7 separate regions of the Homo sapiens genome follow, and regions 1, 2, 4, 5, 6 and 7 are each linked to region 3. Evidence: promoter capture Hi-C in 16 types of primary human blood cells and fetal thymus (Javierre and others, 2016). All regions are on one chromosome and are shown on one strand. Each heading gives the region's core, a stretch centred on a gene start or on the middle of the fragment in contact. The rest is flanking DNA. Distances are from core to core; before and after follow the strand shown.

Evidence for each region. The method cuts DNA at HindIII sites, captures the fragments that hold promoters and counts their contacts. A CHiCAGO score of 5 or more calls a contact.
Region 1: a fragment that was not itself captured here is called in contact with the fragment with the promoter of EPB41L5 in region 3 in 1 of 17 cell types (total CD8 T cells); the score reaches 5.3 in total CD8 T cells.
Region 2: a contact is called between a fragment that was not itself captured here and the fragment with the promoter of EPB41L5 in region 3, in 1 of 17 cell types (total CD8 T cells). The highest score is 6.9, in total CD8 T cells.
Region 4: a contact is called between a fragment that was not itself captured here and the fragment with the promoter of EPB41L5 in region 3, in 4 of 17 cell types (total B cells, naive B cells, fetal thymus and 1 more). The highest score is 9.0, in total B cells.
Region 5: a fragment that was not itself captured here is called in contact with the fragment with the promoter of EPB41L5 in region 3 in 3 of 17 cell types (total CD4 T cells, naive CD8 T cells and naive B cells); the score reaches 6.2 in total CD4 T cells.
Region 6: a contact is called between a fragment that was not itself captured here and the fragment with the promoter of EPB41L5 in region 3, in 3 of 17 cell types (total B cells, naive CD8 T cells and total CD8 T cells). The highest score is 6.6, in total B cells.
Region 7: a contact is called between a fragment that was not itself captured here and the fragment with the promoter of EPB41L5 in region 3, in 4 of 17 cell types (naive CD4 T cells, naive CD8 T cells, fetal thymus and 1 more). The highest score is 6.6, in naive CD4 T cells.

The regions. Positions count from the first base shown.
Region 1 is chr2:119,872,124-119,874,823 of GRCh38, forward strand. All of the region lies in intron 3 of PTPN4 (protein tyrosine phosphatase non-receptor type 4), which reads left to right. Among named protein-coding and RNA genes, the nearest start is that of PTPN4, 110 kb to the left of the region's middle. The HindIII fragment of the contact is 3,701 bases long and covers 1-2,700 here.
Region 2 is chr2:119,849,208-119,851,907 of GRCh38, forward strand. All of the region lies in intron 2 of PTPN4 (protein tyrosine phosphatase non-receptor type 4), which reads left to right. Among named protein-coding and RNA genes, the nearest start is that of PTPN4, 91 kb to the left of the region's middle. The HindIII fragment of the contact is 1,505 bases long and covers 653-2,157 here.
Region 3 is chr2:120,011,683-120,014,520 of GRCh38, forward strand. EPB41L5 (erythrocyte membrane protein band 4.1 like 5) reads left to right here and starts at 1,395. Exons shown (of 25, transcript NM_020909.4): 1 at 1,395-1,528. It overlaps LOC107985817 (a long non-coding RNA gene), which reads left to right. Exons shown (of 4, transcript XR_001739205.2): 4 at 711-1,022. RefSeq lists a silencer at 1,571-1,740. The HindIII fragment of the contact is 11,072 bases long and covers 1-2,838 here.
Region 4 is chr2:119,761,248-119,763,947 of GRCh38, forward strand. All of the region lies in intron 1 of PTPN4 (protein tyrosine phosphatase non-receptor type 4), which reads left to right. Among named protein-coding and RNA genes, the nearest start is that of PTPN4, 2.7 kb to the left of the region's middle. The HindIII fragment of the contact is 3,943 bases long and covers 1-2,700 here.
Region 5 is chr2:119,829,155-119,831,854 of GRCh38, forward strand. All of the region lies in intron 2 of PTPN4 (protein tyrosine phosphatase non-receptor type 4), which reads left to right. Among named protein-coding and RNA genes, the nearest start is that of PTPN4, 71 kb to the left of the region's middle. The HindIII fragment of the contact is 3,087 bases long and covers 1-2,700 here.
Region 6 is chr2:119,780,285-119,782,984 of GRCh38, forward strand. All of the region lies in intron 1 of PTPN4 (protein tyrosine phosphatase non-receptor type 4), which reads left to right. Among named protein-coding and RNA genes, the nearest start is that of PTPN4, 22 kb to the left of the region's middle. RefSeq lists an enhancer at 2,048-2,267. The HindIII fragment of the contact is 5,270 bases long and covers 1-2,700 here.
Region 7 is chr2:119,810,202-119,812,901 of GRCh38, forward strand. All of the region lies in intron 2 of PTPN4 (protein tyrosine phosphatase non-receptor type 4), which reads left to right. Among named protein-coding and RNA genes, the nearest start is that of PTPN4, 52 kb to the left of the region's middle. The HindIII fragment of the contact is 707 bases long and covers 1,065-1,771 here.

The sequences.
Region 1 (2,700 bases), core at 201-2,700, 140 kb before region 3:
TTTTGTTATTAATTTTATTTTATTTAGCGTAGTGAAAGGTAAAGTTGGGATCAAATCCAAGTTTTCCACACCTTTTCTTTCTACTGTTTTACTAAACCCTATGTTTTTTACTGGATCTAGTGACTCTCCAGAATTACTTTATTTGGGAGATGCTCTTCCTCCCAAGTTTCTAACTTAATTTCTAGTAAGAAATAGGATTGATTTATAAGAGAAACAAAAGGTTAATATCACAATGTATACAGCTACCATTAAGATGAGTAATGGCAGGTATTACAGCTAAAGATTTCTAAAAATGGATAGAAAATGGAATATTTTACAGATGAAATAGGCAGTACTTGATCTTTGCTATCTTGGGCATAAATACTTTCTCTTCCTGAAATATCTTACCTTTAACTCACATCCTTCACTCCCGTCACATCTTTTACCCTACCCCTCTTACCTTCACATTTTTTAAGACTCAGAGTAAAAGTCACTTTCCCTCTCAAGCCTTTCCTGACTACCACTACTCCCCAGGTACAGTTTACCTCTTTCTTTTTTATCTGTAGCAGTGATGATACTTTCTTGAGGTGATATGTTTCATGACTTACCAGTTTTTGAGGATAGGGACCATGTTTTGAACTTATATCACCCCAGTACCTGACACAGTGCCTTATAGAAAATAGGCTTCAAATAATGAATGAGTTAAGGGAAAAAAGTATACATCTAAAACTTGATACTGTGGAAAAGAATATAAGCTAGAATTTAATCTCCAAAGTGATACTGAAACAGATGAAGAAATAAATATATGGCTGTAATTTGTCCAAATTATATTTTCTTTAAGACCAAGGCTATTTACAATAGGAACCCTGAACAGTTTGGAGTTAAATTACTTTATTGATTGATTGAAACAAGGTCTTGCTCTGTCACCCAGACTGGAGTGCAGTGTGCAGTGGTGCGATCATGGCTTACAGCAGCCTCAGCCTCTCAGACTGAACCTCAACCTCCTAGCCTCCCGAGTAACCAGGACTATAGGCATGCACTACCACATCTGGCTAATTTTTTCTGGGTTTTTTTTTTTTGTTGTTGTTGTTGTTTTTTTTGTAGAGACGTGGTCTTGCCATGTATCTTTCCCCTAATTTGCAGAAAGATACAGATATGCAAATAGAAGAAGCTCACTGAACTCCAAGTACAATGAAAATGGTCGAAAGAGTTTTGAAAGCAGCAAGAGAAAGAGAAAAGTGACTTGTCACATAGAAGTGCACCTCAATGAAATAACCAGTGGATTTCTTAGTAGAAACCATGCAGATCTCAAATGTAGAAATTTTATTACTACGTTTTGGCAGATACAAAAATTAACTTTGTCATGTGAAGCAGTATATAGAGTAAACAAGAGATTCTTCCCAGGGAAAAGAATGGGAAATTGGCTTTGAAAAGATTAGAAACCATGAGTCATCAGGTAACCGATTAGCAATGTCTAATCGCTTTGAAAGGTTTGAAAAGATTAGAAACAGAGCTCCATCCCTAAGTAGACACTCCTTCATGAATGGGGTTGATGATGTAGTACCGTCTCTTGTTAGCTATCAGTGTTAACTAGATAGTTATAGTTTCTAATAAAATATTATGACATTTAAAATTCATATATATTGTATTGCAGACAGTTCAGCTTTTCTCAGATGTAGCACAGTAATCCAGCTAGTACAGCAGTTCTTGGCAAAGAAAATGCAGTCTGTAACTAAATATAGGTAGTGATATAACCCCAATGCTCATTTATATAAGAACAAAATTAAGGGTTTATCATATGTGATTTCAAGATGTATTAAAACAGTTACTTTAAGCAGTTCCACTCCCAGATATATATTGAAGAGACTTGAAAATGTATGTCCACACAAAAATTTATACACAGATGTTCATAGCAACATTATTCATAATAACTAAAATATGGGAACAATCCAAATGTCCATCAAGTGATGACTAGATAAACCAAATATGGTATAGCTATACAATGAAATATTCAGCAATAAAAAGGAATGGCATACCACAGCACACTCATTGGGATGGCTATAATTTTTTAAAGATAGTGTTGATGAGGAAGTGAAGAAATGGAAATCTTTATACATTGATATTGGAGATGTAAAAGGTACAGCCATTGTGGAAACAAGTTTGGCAGTTTCTCAAAAAGTTAAATATACAATTATCCTGTGACCCAACAATACTACTCCTAGGCATGTACCCAAGAGAATTGAAGACATGTGTTCACACAAAAATGTGTACACAAATGTTCATAGCAGTATTATTCATAATAGTCGAAAAGTAGACACAACCCAGTATCAGCCATAAAAAGGAATGAGTTATTGTTACATGCCACAATGTAGATGAACCAAGAAAACCTTGTCTGTGAAAGCAGACAAACACAAAAGGCAACCTGTTGTATGATTCCATTCTTACGAAATGTTCAAAACAGGTAAATTTGTAGAGACAGAATGTAGGTTAGTGATTGTTAGGGGCAACAGGGAAGGGTACATTGAGACTGACTGCGAATAGGTACAAGATTACCTTTGAGGGTGATGGAAATATTCTGGAATTAGATAGTGATGATGGTTGCACACCGTAGGGAATATACTAAAGTATAATGACACATACATGTTAAAATGGTAAATTTTGTGGTGCGTGAAATATGTCTCACTAAAAATAATAAAAATAATGCTGAGTCTTGGCATATGC
Region 2 (2,700 bases), core at 155-2,654, 160 kb before region 3:
CAGTTCCTGTTACCTGCTATTTTTCTTCTGTTTCTCTTATATGTTTCTGTTTCTTCTCCTGTGTTATGTTTTCGTTTAAACTTGACGTTTTACTTTATTTTATATGTTTTTGAGATAGGGTGTTGCTTTGTCACCCAGGCTGAAGTGCAGTGGTTGTGATCATGGTTCACTGCAGCCTCAACCTCCCAGACTCAGTTGATCTTCCCCCTCAGCCTCCTGAGTAGCTGGGATTACAGGCACACAGAAACACATCTGGCTAATTTTGTACTGTTTTTGCAGAGATGGGGTTTCACCTTGTTGCCCAGGCTGATGTCGAACTCCTGGGCTCAAGCAATCCACCCACCTCAGCCATCCCAAAGTGTTGGGATTAGAGGTGTGAGCCACCGCATCCAAGCAAACCGGACATTTTAGATTGTGTATTGTAACTATTGATAATATATTGACCCCTCCCTTCCAAGGCTTGTCGTTATTGTTTACTTGTTTTTCAGTGATTTGATTGAACTATTTTAGCCTCTGATATCTTCTCACAGTGCGCACAGCATTAGGCATTCTCACAGTCACCCTGGGATGACAGTGGTTTATCAGGGCTCTGTTTGACTCCTCTGATTTCTGTTAGGTTAACTACCTCTGTCAGTTTCATATGCAGCTGTTAAGCTTCAATAATTATTGTCTAATTTCTACATTTTTTTCATCAGTATATAAATAGAGCATAAATTGTTCCACAGTCTTGATCCAGTTAAATCTAAGCCCCTTTGCAGGGATAGTTCTTGAGGCCAATCTTTGATGTTTGTTCTGACTCTAGGAGGGTTCTTACTTTATTTGTCTTACCTGCTTATCGTATTTCCCTGGTTATCTCTGGTAAACTAGCTGACGTATGTTGTTTTCAAGAGCACTCTTAGACTGGAACTTCTCTATACTCGCTACCAAATAAAGTCAGTTTCTTTGGGTAGAGTTTTAAAGTTTTCTGTTCTTGTGGCCTGTCTCCCTTTAACACAGCTTCTCCACTGCCCTGGAGCTGGGGTGGGGACAGTGTTCGGCTTCTCTTGGAGTGAAACTCCTGCCTTACAAGCAGGGCTCTTGTAGGGGCAGTGTCCTTTACTTGATTTGCCTCTCCCTACATGGAATTTCTGCCCTATGAGTAAGCTGAGGCAAGGGTGATTAGGGCTCAGTATTCTGGACCATCTGTGTCTGAGGTAGAGTCTTGCCCTGCAGGCTTTGGGTGGAGGAAGGTTGCTTTTGATTCTTTGACATACCATTCTGGAATTTAAATTGTGATAATGTTGCTGGGAAGCATGAGAAGTGCTGGTGGTCTGCCTCTCCTATATCCCTTGACTAGGATCTGGGGAAGAAGGGATTTGCATCTTCCTGGCCATATTTTCCCAGAGTGGAACATTGGCCAGGGCAGAAGAAGGAGGGAGTGGGTTGTGGCTCAAGTGCCACAGGGTCTTGCTGATTTTACTGAGATTGAGTAGACTTTGTGGAATAAATGCTGTTTTCTTTGTTACTTTCTTTTAGGTGAATTCTCCAAGACTAAATTCTTGCTTTTTGTTTTTGTTTTATAATTTTCCCTAATAGTAGTTGTTATGCTCAGGAGCAGATCCATAGAGTTCCTTTCTGTACATTATTACTTGATTGATTTTTAAGCACTGAACCAGCCTTGCATCTGTGGTAAAACCCCATTTGGTCATGTGTATAATCCTTTTGAGATATTGCTCAGTTCCCTTGCTACTATTAATATTTTTTGAGGATTTTTGCATCTGTGTTCATGAGAAACATTAGTCTGTAGTTTTCTCTTTTATACTGTCTTTTTCTGTTTAAGTATCAGGCCAATGCTGGTTTCATAGAGCAATTTGGGAAGTTCCATCCTCTACTGTTTTCTGGAGGAAGATTGTGTAGAATTATTCTTAATTCTCATCTAAATGATTTGTATTTTTTAGACTTCTCCAGTGAAATCAGGCCCAGGAGATTTGTTTTTGGGGAGGTTTGCTTTGAAACTGTTGTTACCGGTGGAAGGTGTCCCGAGTTACCGGCAGTGAATCCTTACAGGTCTGCAGCAACCTTAATTCTTGCCTCCTTATAAGAAAGAATTCCACTGAGGGTCATATGGTAGAAAAAGAGACTGAGGCAAGTTTCAGCAGGAGTGGAAGTTTATTAAAAAGCTTTAGAACAGGAAAGAAAGGAAAGTGCACTTGGAAGAGACCCAAGTGGGCACCAAGAAGGTCAAGTGCCACGTTTAACTGTGATCCTAGGACTTTATAGGACTTCTGGCATCTTGGAACCCTTCCCCATGATTCTTTCCTTACGGTGGGCTGTCCATATGCACAGTGCCCTTCTTACCCTTTGGAAGTGAGCACATGCAGTGGATTTAGGAAGTTTTATACATGCCCATCTGAGGCTTTCTTCCCTTTTCCAGTGGTGTGCCCTCGGAAAGCCAGGCTCTGCTATTTTGTCTCTTAATGCACATGCCTGGGTTCCCTCACCCAACACCTGAGATTTTATTGGATGCCCTTTTTACTTCTCCCTGGGGCCTGCATTCAATTAACACTTTATAATGTTAACAGCTGTAGATTATCAGGAGATTGTCTGTCCCTGCCTCCGGCTGCTGAATTATCTTTAGAGAGGCAATGCAATAATTGTGGAACCATCACCTGATCACCTGACATTCCTGGTGGATGGGGAGAGCCCTCTCCTGCCTGGCTT
Region 3 (2,838 bases), core at 145-2,644:
ACCTCTCTCAGAGCTCTAGCCAGGGCCCACAAGGCCCTACATCTTACCCCTTTCCTCTCTGACTGTCACCTCCTCTTCCTCTTGCTTCCTCACTTCTAGCCACACTGGACTTCCTTGAAAAGACAGACCTGTCCCCTTGCAGGGCCTTTTGCCCTTGCTGTTCCCTTCGGTTCTCCCCAGATGGCCACAGGGTTCCTCCCACACCTCCTCTAGGTCTTCATTCAAATGCTACCTTTTTTTTTTTTTTTGAGACTGAGTCTGGCTTTGTCGCCAGGCTGGAGTGCAGTGGCGTGATCTGGGCTCACTGCAACTTCCGCCTCCCGGGTTCGAGCGATTCCCCTGCCTCAGCCTCCTGAGTAGCTGGGACTACAGTCGGACGCCACCAGGCTCAGCTAATTTTTGTATTTTTAGTGGAGACGGAGTTTCACAGTGTTGGCCAGGCTGGTCTCGATCTCCTGACCTCGTGATCCGCCCGCCTCGGCCTCCCAAAGTGTTGGGATTACAGGAGTGAGCCACCGCGCCCAGCCAAATGCCACCTTCTTATTGTGACCTGCTATGTAAAATCGCAAACCCTCACTGCCTGTGGTTATTCCCTACTTGTACTTTTCTTTTTAGCATTTACCAATGTCTGACAGTATTTAATTTCACTAATTTATCTCGTTTATTTTATGTCTCGTTTATATTCCTGCTATAACGTAAACTCCGGGAAGGATTTTTGTCTGTCTTGGTTGTCTGTCGTATCTCGTGTCTAGAACACAGAACTCACAGTAAGTAGGCACTTCAATCAATTACCTGTAGAATGAACGGACTGAATGTCACCTTGTTAGAGTACCCTCCTGACCACACTCTGCTAAGCAGTAATCTTTTATTTCTCTTTCCCAGTTTTATTTTTCCTCATTTACACTTAATCACCTTGTGACACCTATTTGTTTACTGTTTCCCCAGTAGAGTGAAAGTCACTTTAACAGCAGAGATTTAAATGTATTTTAATCCCTACAAAGGAGAAAAAGGGAGGAAATACGTGACAGGCTCTCAATAAGTATTTGCGAAGGATTTAATCTCTTGAACGAATGGATGAATGAATCTAGCAGCCAGCTCCACCAGCCTCCTTCGTGATAGGACTAACTGGGGTCTGTCTGCGGACGGGCGCCTCCTCCGCGGGCGGAGGGCCGCAGCGGGAACTGGGTTTCGGCAGCGCCCCTTTAAACCAGCCGCGGACGCCCGGCTGCTGGCGCTAGTTCCAGCCCGGCCGGGCCCGGCCTCGCCGGTTTCTCTCCAGTCGCCGCGCCGGCCAATTTCCGGGGCGGTGTCATCGCCCGTTTAAGAGCGGAGCGCTCCGCCCTGGGGGCGGAGCTGGGAGGGAGCTTTAAGGGGTGGACGGGCGGGAGGTCGGGGTCCTCCGGGGATTAGAGCCGGTGGGCTCGTTGTGGGCGCCATTTCTCGGCGTCTACCGAGGAGCCGCCCCTTTCTCAGCCTTGCTCGGCTCTTCCCCGCTCTGGTCGCCGGGGCTGCGCCGTCCCCAGCTCAGGTAAGCGCGAGGCCCGGCGGCGGCGCCGCAGTACAGTCCGCTGCGCTCCTAGCCGAGTGGACCCTTCCTCGCCCGCGCCTGCGGTAGCGGCCTTGTCCCCGGGGAGGCGGGCGGGGGCCGCACCCAGACCCTAGGGCGGCCGGCCCCTCTCTCGTCGGGCCGGCAGGGCATTAATCCCGCCGGAGGGAGGGGCGGCGGCGGCCAATGAGGCAGGGCCGCCGAGTTTCGGTCGATACCGCGCGACGGGCCGGGGCGGAGGGCCCGGGGCAGCCGGGTTAATGTTTGCCGAGCGGACGCGCTCCCCGAGCCGCGGGTACCCCTCGCTGGTCCGCTGGGCTGCCGTCCAGCGGGAGAGACAAAAGTCGCAAGGGAAGGGGAAAAACGAACTGAGTTTGTGTCACTGTCTTGGTGGACTTTTCGAGCTAACCTGTATTTGAGAAAAACTTCAGTCTCTTGGGAAAGGAGAGGCAGGTGTGTTCCCATGAAAGACGAGGTCTGAAGGTCCCGCCCCGCCCCCACCCGGGACGGTTGTCGTGCTAATGATGGGTTCTTTGGTGTGTAAATGTTAATTGTGTCTGTGGTTACTCGAATTCTACCTAAGAGCGAGACCCAACTCTTAAAACGTTTGGCAATATTTTAGACTAATATTAAAAGTTTTTAAAGAATTACGGGGAAAATTCCCATAACCGTGTACATTTGTAATGTAACCCACAACTGCATTAACTCAGTTTCTAACATAACCCGTTGCTGAGCTCTAGTTAACCTTGTTGGATTATTTGTGCATGTAATATGCTGTGCAGGCTTTAGAAAATAGGTTAACATTATTCGAAAACGATATGCGTAACTGCTGTTGAATTACTCGCTTGCATTTTCTTTATTGGGAATACTGGGACAAAATATAGTGTTACCTTAAATGGCATTTGCTGTATGTTATATTGCTTTATCAAAAAGCAATTAACCAACCATATTGTGGCCACCAGTCATGTAAGAGTATACATATTTCATGACTAACTTTTGGGTTTTGGGTACTTTTTTTAACCAACTTCTGATAGGATTGCTTAAATTTGCATTTTATGATTCTAAAGGAAATCCTTCTAGTTAGGAACTAGAGTAGAAACTACTGTTTTTTGGAAGCCACATAAACCTACCATCCAAAAATTCCACTGTGTCATTCTAGTGTGTCAGGCGAGATGCGGGTTAAGCCAGCTGTTGGGCCAAAGTAGTGAACAAGCCAGACGAAGTCTTTGTCCTTGTGTGTGAGTGGGGGAAGTAGTCAGTAAAAAAGATAATAATTAACAGATATTTAATTA
Region 4 (2,700 bases), core at 168-2,667, 250 kb before region 3:
ACTTGCAAAAGACAATTAGAGTAGAAAGAAGACTGGAACAGTAAAAGCCAGGGCATTTTTAAATCTTGGTTTTCTGAACTTTAACGTGCCAGAGGAAAAAAATTTTTTTTCAATTTTAAGGGGGAAGGAGATGGCCTTAAAATAAAGGATTGTTCAGAGCCTAAACTGTGCTTAATGGAATAGAGCTAGGTATATCATCTAAATCTTGAATTTGACTAATATAAATTCAGCTTTCTTTTAAAGAAAAAACTCGTAAGCAGAAGTTTGTGTATTCTACAGAACCTCTTCACTAGCTCGTAAGTGTGATCATTTTGTGGACATCACTGTTTTTTTGTTAGAATAAATTTATGCTCCAATTACCACAAAAGCAATTTTTATGTCTCTTCGCATTTTTTATGGTACACATATCTTTGTTACATTTTGCATTGAAACACGCACGGTCCCATAGTATCATAATCTTCAGTGATTTATAAGAGAAACAGTCTATTTTGTACATGGGAATGTTTGTCATGTTGCCAGTCTGTTTTAAAAATTTGGCAAGAGGTTTTTAAAATCCAAGGAGGCACCACTATTTTGTAGTTTTTAAAAATATTAATTGAGTAGGTCCATGTTTATTAAGTTAGAAAATCACGAGTTCCTCAAAAGTAGTAATAGACGAGGATGTGATTTTTCTTACTGCCCATTTTCTAACATCTTAGCTTCAGAGCTGTAGGTATTGAATTGAGTCAAACTTGTGTTTTTTTCTTATGTTCTAATTAAATATCTTTTAAAATGTCCCTAGTAACATTGTTACTTTAAATTTATAACACCCAATTTCTAATTTAGGCTAGGCATAAAACCAGCATTGATTGAACGTACTTGCTAAAAATACTTTCTGGGTCGGATGTACTTAGAATGCAGCCTCAGGAAATTTCATTTGAACTATTCTGTGACCAGTGTACACTTCATTATTGTTGAAGGACTTTTAAAAAAAGTATAGATCTCTCATACTCGATTTAATCAGTTTGAGCATAGATGCCTAACTTTAAAAAAAAAGTATAATAAAGTGGGATAGTAATACAATTTACGTGAGATGGTAATAAAAACTTTTCAGCTTTTTTTTTTAACTTGTATGACTTCGTTAGGTTGTTATTAAACTGTGATTTGTATTTTTAAAATAGTTTTGTCTGTTAAACATAATTGAGGTGTACAGTACAGTATCCATTGTTATCTGTTTAGTATTTATTTATGACTTACAAACTCTAAAAGCGGGATCAGTGATCATGGTTTTTAGTAAGTTGTCTTTAAGGAGCAAAGTAAGAGACTAGCAGAAAATTGCAAGGAGGTTTGTTATTGAGAGTACTTCTGCCCCCCGCTTGAGAGTTAATATGGCCACTTTTAAACAAGAAAAGTTTTCCAGAAACGTGGAAATCTTGTTTGGTGTATGTTTAGGGGCAAATGTTTTAAAGTTTTGCCTAAATTCTTAGTTAGAATGCAAAATTGATCAACTCCCTAGGAATGGTTATTGTGGCTAAATATGAATTGTTGCTCCTATGTAAAATTTAGTTATTGGTAGAAGTTTACTAACTGAGTTGAATTTTGTTGTTTTCCTGGGTTATTGCATGTTATGAAGTTTTTTATGTACTATAATCCAGATTTGTTAAATTTGCCAGTTTACTAGAATAAGCTGTGAAGCCTTGAAGTTTGGCTTAGCATTCTGAAAATCCTTTTTATTGTTTGCCAGGAAAGCACTGTAGGAAGGAGGTGTTATCTCTTCATTTAATATTTAATGAGTAGTATAGATGATGAGATAGGATATAATGTAGAAATACCGTAGAATCTTCTTTATTGATATGAAAGTACCATTGTCTAGGAACAGCATAATTTCTTATCTTTTGCATGAATGGGGAAAAAGAGGAGGGGAAATTTATTAGACTCTTTCATTTCATTAGAGATATCTTCCCTCACATTCATTCTTCATTTCATTATTCTTAAGTAGAAACTTTGGAAGAGAGATGCAAGTATTTGAATTAATTAGTAAGAACAAAATGAAAATTACATCGTATAGACTATCATGAGGAAAATATCAATTTGGGTTGGTTATTGTGTTTGTATTTTTTAACAAGGAGGTTATATAGAGTAGTAGAAAGAAAAAAGGACCCAGAGGGGAAGAGTGTTAATATTTATTGTCTGTTAAGTGTCAGATCCTGTATAAGGGGCTTTTCATGTTGTCCCACTCACCAAGTATGCTTTATGAGGTAGGTATTATTAATCCCCTGTCCTCTCCCTGCCAAATAGAAGCTAAGGGAAATGAAATAACTTGTCTAGGCTCATACTTCTAGTAAGTGGAATTCTCTAAAACTTATTCTTTAGATCGGTTCTGTCCAATTAAACTTTCTGCAATGATGGAAATATTCTTTTTTCCTTCAACTTTATTGAAGTATAATTGACAAATATCATAGAAATATTTTTTGCACTGTTAGTTATGGTAGCCATTAATCATGTGTGGCTATGGAGCACTTAAAATGTGACGAGTGTGTCTGAGAAACTCAATTTAAAATTGTATTTAATTTAAATCAATTTAAATTTATAGCCAGATGTGGCTAGTAGCTATAGTATTGGAGAGCATAGCTTTAGGTCTGACTGCTTAGAAAATCTGAGTTGTAGTATTTAATCTTCCACTGGTTTATGCATGGCATTGGGCAAGTTGTTTAGTTCTGG
Region 5 (2,700 bases), core at 117-2,616, 180 kb before region 3:
TATGAGGGATTTGTCCATTTCTTCTTTTAGGACTGTCAGCTTTTTACTTTGTGTGTTTTTTTTGAACGGTTTAATTGAGATGTGATTCACATTAAAGTGGATGATTCACCTTTTAAAAGTGTATGGTTCAATGTTTTTATGTATCACAGAATTAATTTTTAAAAATTGTTGTAAAATACATATAACGAAATTTACCACTTTAGCCATTTTTATATATACAATTCAGTGGTATCAATTAAGTTCACAATGTTGTATAACCTTTCATGTCTACTTCCAACTTTTTATTTTGCCAAACAGAAACTCTAGCCATGTGGCAGTTGTTCCCATGATTCTCTCCCCTCAGCTCCTGTTAACCTCGAATCTTTGTTTCTCTATGAATTTACCTAGTCTAGATATTGGTTATAAGTAGAATCATACAATATATGTCTTATTGTGTTTGGCTTATTTCACTTAGCTTAATGTTTTCAAGGAAGCATGTAGCATGTATCAGAACTTTCACTTTTTTTTCATTCCAGAATAATGTTTTATTGTATGGGTATACCACATTTTGTTTACTCATTCATCTGCTGACAGGCACTTGGGTTGTTTCTACCTTTTACTTATGTGATTAATGTTGCAAACATTGGCATACAAGTATCTGTTCAAGTCTTTGTTTTCAATTCTTTGGAGTCTATACCTAGGAGGAGCATTTCTGGATCACGTGATAATTCAGTGTTTAACCTTTAAGAAACTGCCAAGCTGTTTTACATGGTGTCTGCACCATTTTAAATTCCCACCAGCAATGTACCAGGGTGCCTATTTATACATATCATTACCAACACTGTTATTTTCCAGGTTTTTTTTTTAATAGCTATCTTAGTAGGTGTCAAGTGGTTACATTGTAACCATTGTAGGTTACACTATTTTTGAGACTGCAGTCATTTACTGCATAATAATGTTTCATGGGCCATAGTCACAAAGGTGTGTATTCCTATATTTTCCTCCAAGACTTTTGTAGTTCTAGCTATTAATTTTAGGTCCAAACTTCATTTGGAGTTAATTTTCTATATGGTATGAGGTAGGGGTCCAATTTATTCTTTTGTATGTGGATATCTTTTTGTCTCAGCACCATTTGTTGAAATGATAATTGATATGGTTTGAATCTGTGTACCCACCCAAATCTCATGTCAGATTGTAATCCCCAGTGTTGGAGGTGGGGCCTGGTGGGAGGTGATTGGATCATAAGGGTGGTTTCTCATGAATGGCTTAGCACCATTTCTCTTGGTATTGTCCTCGCAATAGTGAGTTCTCATGATACCTGGTGTAACACCTCTGCCCTCTCTCTCTCTCTATTTTTTGAGACGAGTCTCTGTCACCCAGGCTGGAGTGCAGTGGCGCGGTCTTGGCTCAGTGCAGCCTCAGCCTTCCAGGTTCAAGCAGTTCTCCTGCCTCAGCCTCCAGAGTAGCTGAGATTATAGGCGCCCGTCACCACGCCCCGCTAATTTTTTATTTTTAGTAGAGACGGGGTTTCACCATGTTGGCCAAGCTGGTCTCGAGCTCCTGACCTCAAGTGAGCCACCTGCGTTGGCCTCCCAAAGTGCTACAGGCATGAGCCACCGTGCCTGGCTCACCCTCTCTCTCCTGCACCTGCTTCTGCCACATGAGACACCTTGCTCTCTCTTTGCCTTCCACTATGATTGTAAGTTTCCTGAGGCCTCCCCAGAAGCCAAGCAGATGCCAGCATCATGCTTCCTGTACAGCCTGTGGAACTGTGAGCCAATTAAACTTCTTTTCTTTATAGATTACCCAGTCTTGGGTATTTCTTTGTAGCAATATGAGAACAGACTAATACAATAATTCAGCAGTACCCAAACTTTTTGGCACCAGGGACTGGTTTCAAGGAAGACAATTTTTCCATGGATGGGGGGTGGCAGTAGGGCGTGGTTTGGGGATGAAACAGTTCTACCTGAGATCTGGCATTAGATTCTAATAAGGAGTTTGCAACCTAGATCCCTTTCATGCACAGTTCACAATAGGGTTCATGTTCCTATGAGAATCTAATGCTATCACTGATTTGAGGAGGTGCAGCTTAGACAGTAATGCTTGCTAGCTCAATACTCTCCCGCCCATCGCTCACCTCCTGCTTTGTGGCCTGGTTCCTAGCAGGCCATGGACTGATACTGGTTATGGCTTAGGGGTTGGGGACACCTACAATAATTCATTTTCACTTGAGTGGTCTTGGTATTCTTGTTACAAATCAACAATAAATGGAATAGTTTATTTTTGGACTCTCTATTATTTTTTGTTCCAATGTCTACCCTTATAGAAGCACCACGTTGTCTTATAGGTTCGTAGAAACTTTTGAAATCAGGAAGTGTGAGTTCTCCAACATTCTTTTTAAATATTATTTTGGTGCATACACATTTAGGATTGCTATGTCTTATTGGTGGATTGGCCCTTTGGTCATTGTATAATAATTCTTTGTCCCTGTTAAACTCTTTAGCTCTGAAATCTATTTTATTTGATATTATAGGCACATCTTTCTTTTGATTAATGTTTGCATGGTGAATCATTTTCATCATTTACCTTCAATCTACCTATATCATTATATTTTGAGTTTCTTTGAGACAACATATATCTGGGTCATGTTTTTTATATATACTCTGCCAATATTTGAGTCCTGGTTGAAATTTGAATTCCTACAGAGAGGACTTTTATTTA
Region 6 (2,700 bases), core at 50-2,549, 230 kb before region 3:
ATCTTTTGGTAATAAACACATTCTTCTATGTAGCATGATCACACTCAGGAAATTTAGCATTGACACAATAATATTACCTAAAACTCAGTCTGTATTCCAGATTTCTCCAATTGTTCAAGCAAGTCCCTTATACTTTCTACCCTAACCCCCCGCCAAATCCATGATTGGATCAAGAGCTACACATTGCAGTAGGTTGTTTTATCTTTTTAAATCTACAACGCTCCCCCATCCTTTTACATCTACTCCTCACATTTTCGAAGAATCCAGGCAAATTGTTTTTTAGAATGTTCCTCAATTTGGATTTGTCTCATTGTTTTAGTTTTATTTCATCACTAGATTCAAGTTAAACATTTTTGGCAAGAACACTATATAAGGTGTTATGTTCTCAGTATATGACATCAGGGTGTCTATGATACCAGTTTTGGTGATGTTAAATTTGATTATTTGGTTAAGGTGGGATATGACAGATTTCTCCATTGTAAAGATATCGTTTCCCCTTTGTAATTAATAAGTAATTTATGGGGTGATACTTTTGGATTATGTATCTTGTTACCCAACAACTCTCACCCAGTGATTTTAGCATTTGTTAAGTCTTGCCTGAATCAGTTATAGTAACTGTAAAATGGCATTTTTCTATTTCTGTTCTTCCTTCTATATTTATCATTAGATATTATTTTTAAAAAGTTATTCCTCTCCCTCACTTAAAAACATTAGCATCACTCTGGACTTATGGATTTTTATTCAGAGTATTATAATCTATTATTTATTTTGGAACTTAAGTTGTTTCATATTTCCTGATAGGAGTTTCTTTAAACTGCCTCTCTTTTTCTTTGACTAGTCCTCAGTTAGATTTTGAGGGCTTACTTCCTTACTTACCAGTACAAGACATTTAGCCTCACCTTGTATTTTCCTTGCCCCAGCTCTGAAATCAGCCTTTTTTCTCCAGAGTCCTAATTTCTTTTAGTGAGGAATAGTATATAGTAGGTTAAGTATATTCAGTGTTATTGGAGTATTTTGACTTCTAGGTTCTAGTGGATAATTTTTTAAAAATGAGATTAACCAATGCCTCTAATTCTCATCCAGTACTGCAACCATCTCTGATGCCATATCTGACCTCTTGTGTCCTGTAGCCAGACTCCTGGTTCTCAACAATATTAATATTTATTCATTTGTTCAATCCTATAATAGACACAAAATAGTTTCAGAATGTTGCATCAAGACCACTGTCAACAACAAACTTTATAAAGTTCGGAGTTTTTTATATTTCTTTTGATTTATCTTCAGTGTATTCTGCTGTGGTTAGCAAACTGTGGCCTGTGGGTCAAATCTGACCACCACCTTTTCAGTATGGCCTGTGAACTAAGAATGCTTTTTAAGTTTTTAAGTTCTTTTAAAAAATAAAAAATATTTCATGACCCATGAAAATTACATGAAATTCAGACTTCAATATCTGAATTTAGAATACAGCCATACTCATTCGTTTACATATTGTTTATGGCTGCTTTCATGCTACATAGGTAGAATTAAGTAGTTATACCAGAGATCTTAATGGCCTGTAAAGCCTGAAATATTTTCTGCCTGGCTCCTTACTGAAAATGTTTGTCAATTTTAATACTATTATATTTAACAATTACTGGAATGCTTTTTTTCCTGCGTGATTGTGTTATATATTATTAGATTCATTTATTTACTCAATTTTAGGGAGAAAGGAATTTTTTTTAAATGTTGGAAATTGGCAGTGATCGAATTTTAGAATTAGAAGGATATTTAGTGTTCCTGTAGTCCCACACTGTCCAGTAGGATAACCACTAGCCAAATGTAGCCATTTAAATTAAATATAAAAAATTCTTGGCTGGGCGCGGTGGCTCACGCCTGTAATCCTAGCACTTTGGGAGGCCAAAGCGGGCAGATCACTTGAGGTCAGGAGTTCAAAACCAGCCTGGCCAACATGGTGAAACCCCGTCTCTACTAAAAATACAAAAAAATTAGCCGGGTGTGGAGACAGGCGCCTGTAATCCCAGATACTCAGGAGGCTGAGGCAGGAGAATTGCTTGAACCTGGGAGGCAGAGGTTGCAACGAGCCGAGGTCATGCCACTGCACTCTAGCCTGGGCGACAGAGCGAGACTCCGTCTAAAAAACGAAAAGAAAAAAAAATTCTTAAGTTATATGAGTCACATTTCAAATGTTTAGTCATCCTATGTGGCATGGTTCCTATATAGGACAGTACAGATTATAGATCACAAAAAGTTCTATCATTTTACAGATGAGGAAGTTGAGGTTCAGAAAAATGAAGTGACTGCTCCAAGGTAATAGATAGACAGTAACAGATTTAGAGTGAATCAGTGGCTTACTAGATATTACAGTTGTTGTGACATTTGTAATAGAAAAGAAAGACCCCTGTGTTAGGCTATGAAACCCCCCCACCCCCCTTTTTTTTTTTGAGACGACCTCACTCTGTCATCCAGGCTGGAGATCAGTGGTATGATGATGGCTCACTACAGCCTCAACCCCCCAGGCTCAAGCTATCCTCTCACCTCAGCCTACTGAGTAGCTGAGACCACAGGCATGTACCACTACTCCCGGCTAATTAAAAAAAAAAATGTGTAGAGACAGGATCTCCCTATGTTCCCCAGGCTGGTCTTCAACTCCTGGGCTCAAGGGATCCTCCTGCCTTGGTATTACAGGTGTGAGCCACCACG
Region 7 (2,700 bases), core at 168-2,667, 200 kb before region 3:
CAACAGTGTGCATTTTGATTAGTAGAGCAGATCCATAGTATGTGTGTGGTTTTCATAAATGTGCTTGAGGGTGCCTGAAAAGAATTTGTTCTTCTAAATAATTTATACATATTCATGGTAATTTTACTTGTACTGTCTGTGAGTAAAATTTTTGCCAAACAAAAATAAATGACAGCCCTGATCTTATCTATCGTCTGAAATATTTATTTAACAAATATTTGTTCATCCTATTTGTGTCTAGCTTTGTTTGCTCATCGTTATTTGTGAGTTTTACCCATGTGGTGTGTTAACAGTAGTTAGTTCATTGTTACTGCTCTGTAGTACCCTTTTGTATGAATATACTATAGTTTACTTATCCTTTCATTTACCATTTACTTGTCCAGTTTATTGTTGGTATATATTTGGATTTGTTTCCACTTTGGGCTCTTACAAATAATACTGCTGTGAACATTCTTGTACATATCTTGATACATATAAAAGTGTATTCTCCCTTTTTATTTAAAAACTTTTCAACCTATATGGAAAAGGTGAAATAATATTATAATGAATACCCTTATACCCTTTACCTAAATTGACCCAGTGTTAACATTTTGCACATTTACTTTATGTTTCCTTCTCTCTACATGACTTTTTTTTCCTGAACCTTTTGAAAGTAAGTACTTCAGTATTCCGAGAATCTCATAATTACCACATCCCTAAATTTAACTTTATGAAAATAATAATATATGCAGTCTGTATTCAAACTGGAATTCTTATTCTTCAGGATGTTTTGGTATTTCCAAATTTTTCAGGATGTTTTCTGCTGTATTACTTGGGTATTTCCACACTTTGAAATCTTTAAGTAATATAAAATATGAATCTTACACCGGGGCCAGTCGGGGGATTAGGGGCTGGGGGAGGGATAGCATTAGGAGAAATACCCAATGTAAATGATGAGTTGATGGGTGCAGCCAACCAACATGGCACATGTATACCTAGGTATCAAACCTGCATGTTGTGCACATGTACCCTAGAACTTAAAGTATAATAATACAAAAAATGAATCTTTCTTATTTACCAGTTTAAGCTTAAAATTTTCTGTGTATTACTATATAGCAGGATTATGAATTTATCTCAAATTCCAAGCTATTTCACATTGAAAAAGGGGCTGCAGAGTAGTGAATATTACATCATTATCATTAAAAATACCTTCAACATTATCTAAAATACCCAACAGATTTAGGATTTAGTGTGCTTTTCTAAAAAGCTAAACTTTTGATTTCTTTTGTATTCTATCATCTGTTAATATATAGTTGGAATATAGGTTGCCAAACAGAGATAACATAAAGTGAAGAGAATTCTACTTCGTACAAATTTCTATTTAATAGAAACTCTCATGTATTAGACAGTTGATGTAAGAAAATAAGCCTTTTTTCCTATTATTCACGTGTTAGAATTCTTTTTTGGAAAAGGCATAAATTTAATAACTTTTGTCTTAGCTTAAATTTAGCTACTATTTAGTTTTCATTTTAACTATAGTTTTGAATGTATTTCAAAATATTGTAAAAAGGTTTGGTATGTTTCTCAGCTAGCATAATTTTCTGTTGAGCACTTTAGTTAACAGTAGTATGCTGTATTTTTCAGTGTAGTAATCAATGTGCTGTCTAGTTACTCTTTTAGAAAGACATATATATTAATGTACTTTTATATGTTTATATTTTAAAAATATATATTACATATATTTAGCTGGCAGTTTCAATAGACCTGGATATATTACCTAGAATGGTAAGTAAGCTTACCATTCTGTGGTGCTAGAAACTTTCTCTACCATTATCTCAGGTCATCAAAAAACTTAAGAGGAACAATATTTATGAAAAATTGCTGGTTATGTGGTATATTTATTCCTCTGGGTATTTGAACCCAAGCCATTCAAACCAAAAGAGTTGCTTTGTACTTTTAGGTAGATTATTTATCTTTTAATCCATGTGAATAGATCTCCAGTTATGTACTTTACAACCTGTGGAGTGGTATGTGGCAGCCTGCAAACTAATTGGGGGTTTGAAAGTTTTGGTGTTTGTTTTCTTGTGTCCACTTAGTACCATTAAGTCTCAGAAATCCTTTGTGGGCAGCTGCCAGGTTCACCAGCATTTCTCTGTTCACCAAGAAGGAGAACTACTCAGTTTCCTTTGGAGACTACCAGGCATTGGAGTCATTGCTTTTCATGAAAGATTTTTGCACCACAGGTAAAATATTCATGTTGCCAAAGCCTGCTTTGTTTCATCTGGTAGTTATCTCATCAAAGCCGTTTCTGTATTTTCTGAGGGAAATTTTTGTAATGAAGGAGTTGATGTAACTTCACTAGATCTTGCTTTTTCTCTGCTGTGGACATAGGAATGATAAGCCTGTTATCACTGGGTTTGTGTTGGCTTGTGTTGTTTCAATGTCAAGTCCTATTTTCACTGTGGCTTTGGTATAACCATTTATTTACTGTGGCCAACCTATGGAGTGTATTGTCCCTCTCATGCCGTGAATTCATTGTCACTAAATGAATTCATGATATGAGAATTCATCTCACCAAATATGTTTGCATTAACAACTCACTAAATATGTTTGCATTAAATACTTTAAAATGCATAGTGTCCGTACTACATGGATTGATGTCTTCAATCTATGAGGATTTTTACCCCTAATTTTTGACTTGACTTTTACTTTGGTGCAGCT